Linked DNA regions of Homo sapiens: all the other regions are linked to region 3. Evidence: promoter capture Hi-C in 16 types of primary human blood cells and fetal thymus (Javierre and others, 2016). All regions are on one chromosome and are shown on one strand. Each heading gives the region's core, a stretch centred on a gene start or on the middle of the fragment in contact. The rest is flanking DNA. Distances are from core to core; before and after follow the strand shown. Region 1 holds the start of KCTD12 (potassium channel tetramerization domain containing 12). Region 2 has its middle 15 kb from the start of FBXL3. Region 3 holds the start of SLAIN1 (SLAIN motif family member 1).

What was found. The method cuts DNA at HindIII sites, captures the fragments that hold promoters and counts their contacts. A CHiCAGO score of 5 or more calls a contact.
Region 1: the fragment with the promoter of KCTD12 here is called in contact with the fragment with the promoter of SLAIN1 in region 3 in 2 of 17 cell types (fetal thymus and naive CD4 T cells); the score reaches 8.2 in fetal thymus.
Region 2: a fragment that was not itself captured here is called in contact with the fragment with the promoter of SLAIN1 in region 3 in 1 of 17 cell types (non-activated CD4 T cells); the score reaches 5.8 in non-activated CD4 T cells.

The regions. Positions count from the first base shown.
Region 1 is chr13:76,885,155-76,887,854 of GRCh38, reverse strand. KCTD12 (potassium channel tetramerization domain containing 12) reads left to right here and starts at 1,450. Exons shown (of 1, transcript NM_138444.4): 1 at 1,450-2,700. The coding sequence starts at 1,707. The coding sequence ends at 2,684. RefSeq lists silencers at 1,223-1,652, 2,053-2,322 and an enhancer at 1,936-2,435. The HindIII fragment of the contact is 7,244 bases long and covers 749-2,700 here.
Region 2 is chr13:77,041,148-77,044,116 of GRCh38, reverse strand. No RefSeq gene overlaps it. Among named protein-coding and RNA genes, the nearest start is that of FBXL3, 15 kb to the right of the region's middle. The HindIII fragment of the contact is 731 bases long and covers 909-1,639 here.
Region 3 is chr13:77,696,166-77,698,953 of GRCh38, reverse strand. SLAIN1 (SLAIN motif family member 1) reads right to left here and starts at 1,267. Exons shown (of 7, transcript NM_001242868.2): 1 at 415-1,267. The coding sequence starts at 1,040. It overlaps MIR3665 (microRNA 3665), which reads left to right and starts at 838; the gene lies at 838-942. RefSeq lists silencers at 200-349, 510-749, 950-1,509. The HindIII fragment of the contact is 5,751 bases long and covers 1-2,788 here.

The DNA of each region.
Region 1 (2,700 bases), core at 201-2,700, 810 kb after region 3:
TCTATACTTCAAACTGATGTGATAACTGCGCAGACCCCTGACCCTTTGCTTATTGGGCTACACTGAAAGCGCTTTGGAGATTATTCGCCTTTGCATTCCTCACTCCCTGGTGCCCTGCAAATAATAGCAGGTACACAAGAAACATTCAGTGACCCAATCATTTCTTGACACCCTCCTCTGCACTCTTCTCTTTTTGCAGCATTCAGGAGCTCTTACTTATTTTCATACCCAAATCAGTGATCAGATAATCACTCATAAATATGACATTTCAGAACGTGCTGGGAGCAGCGCAGACAGTGTGTAGGGAGCCATCCAGAGGCCCCACCCACCTGGGAAGCCAGGGAAAGCTTCCAGGGGGAGGGGGCGGTTCTGTGGGCTGCAGTCCGAGGGGGAAAAGCAAACGTGTAGGCAGCAGGAGTTGAGAGATGGGATCCAGACAAGGGCCTTCAGATATATAAATATCCCTTTCTGAGACTGACGGGAACTTGGACAGGGCCGAAGAGTGACCGAGGCATGCGGGAGAGAAGGGGCGCCTGGACTTTTGGAAGGATAAACATGCAGGCGCCAAAGGTGGCTTTAAAAATTACGTTAGATCTGCAACTGTTGTGAGTCTAAGGGCGCGATTCAACGAAGGCTGAATGGGACCCGGAGACCGAACGTTCCGGAGTCTTACCCCTTCACTTCGAAGTGAAGTGCCTCGAAGGCCCTGCGGGAAGAGGGAATTGCAATTAAGAGCAGATTTGAAGCTTCATCTCATTTTGTCTCTGCAGCCAGAAAATAAACTATCGTAAAGCATCCTACTGCGGGACACTGAGGTTTGCTTTTTGTTTCTAGGTTTATTTATTTATTTTCCAGGCTGGCTGCAAGGCAACTTGAACAAAATCTGGCTGCGCTCGGACTGGGGCGGCTCTTTCGTCTCTCCAGGTTTTTCGCGTCTCTCTACTTTCAGTGACACGACAACCAACGATGGCAGGCCGCAGCTGCACTGCTGGAAGCGCCCAGTTCCGCAGGCGGGAGGGCCGGAGGCGGCCACGCATTTCCACTCCCGGGGCGACAGGCTTCCGAAAGTTCACGTCCTCCTTCCAGAGTCCTTGGGTGCGGGCTGGGGCGAGAGGGGAGGGGGCGCGGTGACTGTCCCTCCAAGGAGCTGTCTTCCGAAGCCGCCAAGTCTCGGGCGGGTCCTCTTCGGAAGAGGGAGAAAGTTGGGCGGGACCACGGGGCGGGGCTGGTGGGTGGGGAGCGGGTGGGAGTCCGGGCGCCCCCAGCGCTCGCGAGCCGGGGTGGAGCCAGCAGCCCCGCGTGGCGTCCGCGTTTAAGATGCAAATCGAGTCCCCGCTCCCCACCTCCCCTCGCCCGGTAAGCGAGGCTCCGCCGCCGCCCACGCCTCCTGCGCGCCACGGCACCAGAGCAGGCGGCTCTACTTAAGCAGCGCGCGGGCCGCGACCCGGCACTCGCCTGGAGCGCGCGGGCAAGGCGGGCGGAGCGCACTGGAACTCAAGGGGGCGCACAGCGGCGCGCTCGCACCGCTCGGCTCCGCGCGGCTCTAGGAGGTGGCGGCGGTGGCGGTGGCGGCGGTGGCGGCGGCGGCGGCGGCGGGGCGCAGGGCTGAGCGAGCGTCCGGGTTCCGGGGCTCCGGGGAAGGCGGTTGCAGCTCCTGAGTGCAGCGCGGCTTCCTGCCACTGTCCCGGCCCGGCCACCTCTCTGTCATGGCTCTGGCGGACAGCACACGTGGATTACCCAACGGGGGCGGCGGCGGGGGCGGCAGTGGCTCCTCGTCGTCCTCCGCGGAGCCACCGCTCTTCCCCGACATCGTGGAGCTGAACGTGGGGGGCCAGGTGTACGTGACCCGGCGCTGCACGGTGGTGTCGGTGCCCGACTCGCTGCTCTGGCGCATGTTCACGCAGCAGCAGCCGCAGGAGCTGGCCCGGGACAGCAAAGGCCGCTTCTTTCTGGACCGGGACGGCTTCCTCTTCCGCTACATCCTGGATTACCTGCGGGACTTGCAGCTCGTGCTGCCCGACTACTTCCCCGAGCGCAGCCGGCTGCAGCGCGAGGCCGAGTACTTCGAGCTGCCAGAGCTCGTGCGCCGCCTCGGGGCGCCCCAGCAGCCCGGCCCGGGGCCGCCGCCCTCGCGGCGCGGGGTGCACAAGGAGGGCTCGCTGGGTGACGAGCTGCTGCCGCTTGGCTACTCGGAGCCCGAACAGCAGGAGGGCGCCTCTGCCGGGGCGCCGTCGCCCACGCTGGAGCTGGCTAGCCGCAGTCCGTCCGGGGGCGCGGCGGGCCCGCTGCTCACGCCGTCCCAGTCGCTGGACGGCAGCCGGCGCTCGGGCTACATCACCATCGGCTACCGCGGCTCCTACACCATCGGGCGGGACGCGCAGGCGGACGCCAAGTTCCGGCGAGTGGCGCGCATCACCGTTTGCGGAAAGACGTCGCTGGCCAAGGAGGTGTTTGGGGACACCCTGAACGAAAGCCGGGACCCCGACCGTCCCCCGGAGCGCTACACCTCGCGCTATTACCTCAAGTTCAACTTCCTGGAGCAGGCCTTCGACAAGCTGTCCGAGTCGGGCTTCCACATGGTGGCGTGCAGCTCCACGGGCACCTGCGCCTTTGCCAGCAGCACCGACCAGAGCGAGGACAAGATCTGGACCAGCTACACCGAGTACGTCTTCTGCAGGGAGTGAGCTCCCCAGACCCCCT
Region 2 (2,969 bases), core at 25-2,524, 650 kb after region 3:
AAGTGCTAGGATTACAGGCGTGAGCCATTGCACCCAGCCCCTTTTTGAAGTTCATATAAAGTAATAAAATCACTAATTTTTTATTCATTTTCTATAGACAACGGTGTGTTTAGGTACATCTTTTTGACACTCGAGTCATGAAATTGCCAAATTATTGATTGTTGACTCATCATACATCAGATTAGCAAAACTTTTGTTGTTGTTGTTGTATTTGAGACAGTCTCACTCTGCTGCCCACACTGGAGTGCAGTGGCACCATCTTGGCTCACTGCAACCTCCACCTCCCAGGTTCAAGCGATTCTCCTGCCTCAGCCTCCCAAGGAGCTGGGACTACAGGCGTGTGCCACCTCACCCAGCTAATTTTTGTATTTTTAGTAGGGATGGGGTTTCACCAGGCTGGTCTTGAACTCCTGACCTCAGGTGATCCGCTCGCCTCCGGCCTCCCAAAATTCCGGTATTACAGGCGTGAGCCACCGCGCCTGGCCAAGACTAGCAAAAGTTTTAATCACATTTTGTTCTAAATTCCAACTGTGGGAAATATAGAACTTAATTTGTCAATATAGAATTACTGACAAATTTAATGACATTTGTGTTAAGCATTTATGAGAAATTTAAAACAATCTTTGCCTTGAAGGAACTTAAAAAATAAAGATCAGATCTGAGCACAGGTAACTATTTTACAGAATGTTCTAATAAGTTTCATAAAAATATCCAAGCCAAATGCTTCAGGATTTAGGAAAAATCATTATTGTTTTGTCGTTGGGAGTGTAGCTAAGAGGCCATTTAAGCTGCCTTTTGAAGAATAAGTAGCATTTCAAGGAGCAGAGATGTGGAGAAAGGCATGAGAAATACCTAAGTAGGAAAATCTAGAATATGATCAAAGAACAGTAAGTATGAGTGTTCAAGCTTAGGATTGACTGAAAATGTTTCCAGAAAACACAAAGTACGTAGAGAGACTAAAGCTGTTACAAGAAAACTGGAGGGGAGAATGCAGTGAGGACACTGTCAGTATATTTGACTTGACACTGTCAGTATATTTGACTTAAATTCACAGGCCACAGGAATGAAACTAACCTTGAGAATGCCACACAGATAAGAGACTTTATGGACACTTAATAGCTGCGAAGAATACCATCTTGCGTCAGTTAACTTTGCTGGCAAACTGGTCAGCTCAGTTTGTAAATCGTAGAGGAAAAGAAACAAACTATTGAGATGGCTTGGCTAAAAAAGCCATCTCAAGTTATGAAAGGGATAAAATCAACAAAGCTGTGTAGTGAATACTCACAATGACTTCAACTTATCTTCATTTATGAGGAAGTCACTTTTAGTCAGGATCTCTAGCACCTCAAAACCAGAGAACATAAACATCTTAGCAATAAATTATGACAAAGCACAGGAAGGAGTGGCTTTGGCAGGCATTTTTAGCTCAAGCATCCTACACACAAGGACCATCCTTCAAACACTGCATGTAACATCCAAGGCAGGAGACAGAAAGCAGAATCACAGTGGTAGATGTCAGTGAATCTTCCTGGAAAGAAATTGTTTTTCCGTTATATTTTCAAGCCTAGGAAAAGCCATTTTTCTTAGTATTATGGCTAGACTGTTTAGGCCTAAAATCTCCCTATTTTATCAATAAGCTTATTTGGTTTTGGTTTTTGGTTTTTTGAGTTTTTTGGGTTTTTTTTTTTTTTTTTAAGAAAGGGTCTCACTCTGTCGCCCCAGCTGGAGTGCAGTGGCGTTATCTCGGCTCGCAGCAACCTCTGCCTTTTGGGCTCAAGTGATCCTCCCACCTCAGCCCCAAGTAGCTGGGAGTACAGGCACGAGCCACCATGCCCAGCTAATTTTTGTAATTGAAACAGGGTTTCACCATGTTGGCCAGGCTGGTCTCAAACTCCTGAGCTGAAGCGATCTACCTGCCTCAGCTAGGATTACAGGTGTGAGCCACCGCACCCAACCTCAATAAGCTTATTTGATAAAATATATGCAATGCTCCCTTTATTCACTTTTCATTCAGAATGTTTAGTAATTTGTATTGTTTTTCAGATTTTCAGCCCAATATATCTCCCTGCCCACTGTGTCACTGTATTCTACCTATACATCATCACGTGTTTCTGCTATTGGCTGTATGATGGAACACTGCGGCTCATTTTCCTGAAAACTGCCGATAGTGCATAGAGTGCTGGGATGGAAACCAGAAGCTTTGAATTCAAGCCTTGGTTCTGCCTTGTTTTTGCTTGGGTGGCCTTGAGTCAGCCACATACCTTTTAAAATCTCAATTTATTAGAAATTATTCCAAATCAAAATCAAATGAGAAGGTATATACAAAAGTGCTTTATCCCACAATAAACTATTCAAGAGAGAGCAAAGGAGAGGACATTTACTCAACACCTCCTAAAAGGCAGCCAGTGAAATTAGGCATTTTATTTAATCCTCCTGGCAACTCTGAGAGTAAAGCATTATTAATCCCATTTTGGCTGTTTAAAGAAATTATTTGCACTAGATTCCAGCTGTAGTTTAGCTTCAGAAAAAAAAATCCTGAGATGTGAATTCACAGCTTTCTGGGTTTAAAGCCCAAGCTCTATCACATCATGCTATTATTGTTACATTACTGCTAGTTCTATGAAAAGAAATACTAATTTATGAAATACATCTTATCCAAAATGGTTGGGACCAGAAGTGTTTCTGATTTCGGGTTTTTTCAGGTTTGGGAATATTTGCATTACCAGTTGAGCATCCCAAATCTGAAATCCAAAATGCTCCAGTGAGCATTTTATTTGGGTATCAGGCATGTCAGTACTCAAAGTTTTAAATTTCAGGACACTTATCGTATGGCCAAGGTTGCACAGGGGACAAGACAGCATATGCCTCCAAGAGTGTTCAGTGTCGTCAGGAGGTACCTCCACCCAGATTTCCCTTCAGGGGAGGCCCCACCTCAAGGAGTCCAGTTAGCTGACAGCCTCCAGCTTTAA
Region 3 (2,788 bases), core at 18-2,517:
CAGTCGCAGACAGAGGCCAACCCCTACCATCCCCCGTCATCCCTCCGAAAACACTGGGGAAAAGAGCAGCACTGAGCAAAAAGACAAGATGACATGGATTTTGCACTTAATGCTAACGAGGAGCTTGGGACCCAACAATCAGCAAATAGCAGAACCCATGGCAGATGGGGGGAAGGGGGGGCCGGTTCATCCGCAGTCGGAGCGATTAGAAAACAGGTTTCTGCCTTCATGAGAAGCCTCATCGTGGGAAGTGTCACCGCCTGGCTCAACACCTGCTGGGTCGGCCCCTCCGGGAGCCGCGGGGAGTCACCCCGGCTGCCGCGAGGGGACCCCCGTCCGCCCCCCGCCCCCGCTCCCCGGTGCCCGAAGCCCCCGAGGCCAGGGTCTCGGGGAAGGAGCGGAGCCAGGCAGTACCAGGTGTAGTCGTCCTCGTCCCGCCAGGCGGCTACGCTCTCCAGATCCAGCAATTCCACCTCGTCCAGCAGCGTGGGGGGCGGCGAGGGCGGCGCTGCAGCTGCCCCTGGCGGCGTCCCCGCGCCCCCCGGCTCCGGCCCGCCACCGCCCGCGCCGAAGAAGCCTGCTGCCGGCTTGAAGTAGACGAAGGGCGCCTCGGGTGGCTGCGCCAGGCTGCAAAGCAGGGAGGGCGCGGGGCTAGGCAGGCAGAAGGTGCCCGGGAACGCGGGGCTGGAGCCACCGCCGCTGCCACTACCGCTGCCGCCACCGCCCCCCGCGCCCAGCGCCAGCCCGAGCCCCAGGCCCCCTGAGGCCGCGGCGGTGGCCGTGGCGGCCGGGGGGCTCCGAGGACCCAAAGGCTGCAGGCCAGCGGGGGGCGGCGCGGCGGGCGGCGGCGGCGGCAGCAGCAGCAGGTGCGGGGCGGCGGCCGCGCTGGCCGCTCGACTCCGCAGCTGCTCGTTCTGCTTCTCCAGCTTGCGCACCAGCTCCTGCAGCTTCTTCACCTCCAGCTCCGCGTTCACCACCGGCCCGGAGCCCGCTCCAGAGCTGACCCCTGCCGAGGCGCATTTCACCTGCTCCGCCATCATCGTGGGCCCCGAGGGCGCCGCGGCCGCCGGGGAGTGCGCGCCGCCGCGCCGGCTCCTCGGGCCACGGGGAGGCTACGGCTCCTTCCCTGTCGCCCCGGCCTGGGGGGCCGACCACGCGCGGGCTGAGGCCGAGCCGGCGGTTCGCATCAGCACCGGGCCCTCGCCTCCGGCCGCGGCAGCCACCACCGAGCTGATCTGCACATGCTCAGTGCGTCCCTCCAGTCCCCTGGGCGTCGCGGCGGCTCCGGGTTTTAGCCGCGGCCCCGGAGCGGGGCGGGGCAAGAGCGCCGAGGGGGCGGGTGGGGGGGGGGGGGCGGAGAACCGTGGGGAAGCCCACCCAGGGGGCGGGGCCGGCAGCCCGGGTTGGGGCCGGGGAGCCGCACCCACCCTCGCTACCTAATCCCAGGGGCCTGATTGGACCTGGCCTGAACTTTCCCGCCACAAGCACCTCCTCCTGCCGCTTGGTGGGACAGTGAACTGCGCGGGTCTCTGAGGCGGTTGCGGGGACCAGGGGGTTCCCAAAGAAGCAGCTGCAGGTGCTGGCCCTCGAGTAGTGCACCACCGGCCCGCTGGTTTGCTCCCTTCCCAGCTCTCTGTTAGGCTCCGTGACAGCACTTAATAGCCACTGGCTAACGAATCCTATAGAAAACTTAAAGGCTGGGGATCGTTATTCTAAAAACCGAAAAGTGGAGATAGGGGGAACAGAAAGGCTTTGGGACCATGCCACTCATGTTCTCATTGGTAATAGAGAAGCAAAATGGTGGGAGACAGGAGACCGAGAAGAAAGAGAAGAAAGCCCTCTCTCTAAGAGGTAGAGTGGCCAGCTGCTAAGGAGACAAGTGTTTACTTATTTATTCTAAAATAGTCAAATTTGAACTGTTACCATCATTGTTTGTCACAATAAAAGAAGAACTGCTTTTTTTTTCATACTATGTATATTCATGCATTCCCCAAACAAAAGATCTTTGAGCACCTACTCTGTGCCAGGAACCATTCTAAGAGCTCGTGATGCGGGCAATGAGTACAATAGGCAAAAATGGTTATGGGGAGAAATATGAGTAAAATTGTTTAGTGCTCCTTCTATTAAATAATGTGTAAGTTATTAAAGTCAGACTTGCTGGTGGGAAAGCAGAAAACAGAAAACCTCAGAATTCTACCCAATACACTTTAATCTCACCTGCAAACCTGCTATTTCTTACCACTTGGAAAACGAGCAAATCTGCTTTTTTTAAAAGAGGCTTTTAAGCAGAAGAATTTAATCGAGTTGTGTTCAATGAATACTGACTGACTTAGCATTTTGAGTGTTTAACACAATCAGAGGAAAACCTGAGATTATATTATGAGAAAAATCTACACCACTGGTTCTCATCCTCAGATGATATACTATCTAGTGAAAGTCCTTGCTAGGGACTTTACATACCAATCTTTGTGACAATGTACCTCATTTCTCTGGAGCTGCTAACACATCGTATCTATTGGTTTCAGATATGGTTTTGTGTCTTCCTGCTCAGAAACACTTGTATCTTCTCAGTTGTTAATCTACATCTCTAGCTTCTGTGTGCAGGGTGGATGTTCTGCATTTAACATGCTTGGTGAGCGCTTCCATAAATTAGCTAAATGCGTGTGATGACTCCCTTAACCTTCCCTGTGTCCCAGCTTGCTAGCCCACCACCTAACCACCTGTATCACCCATCACCTTTCCAAGTTTCGGTATATCTTTAGGATTTTTTTTGGTTATTACCAAAACC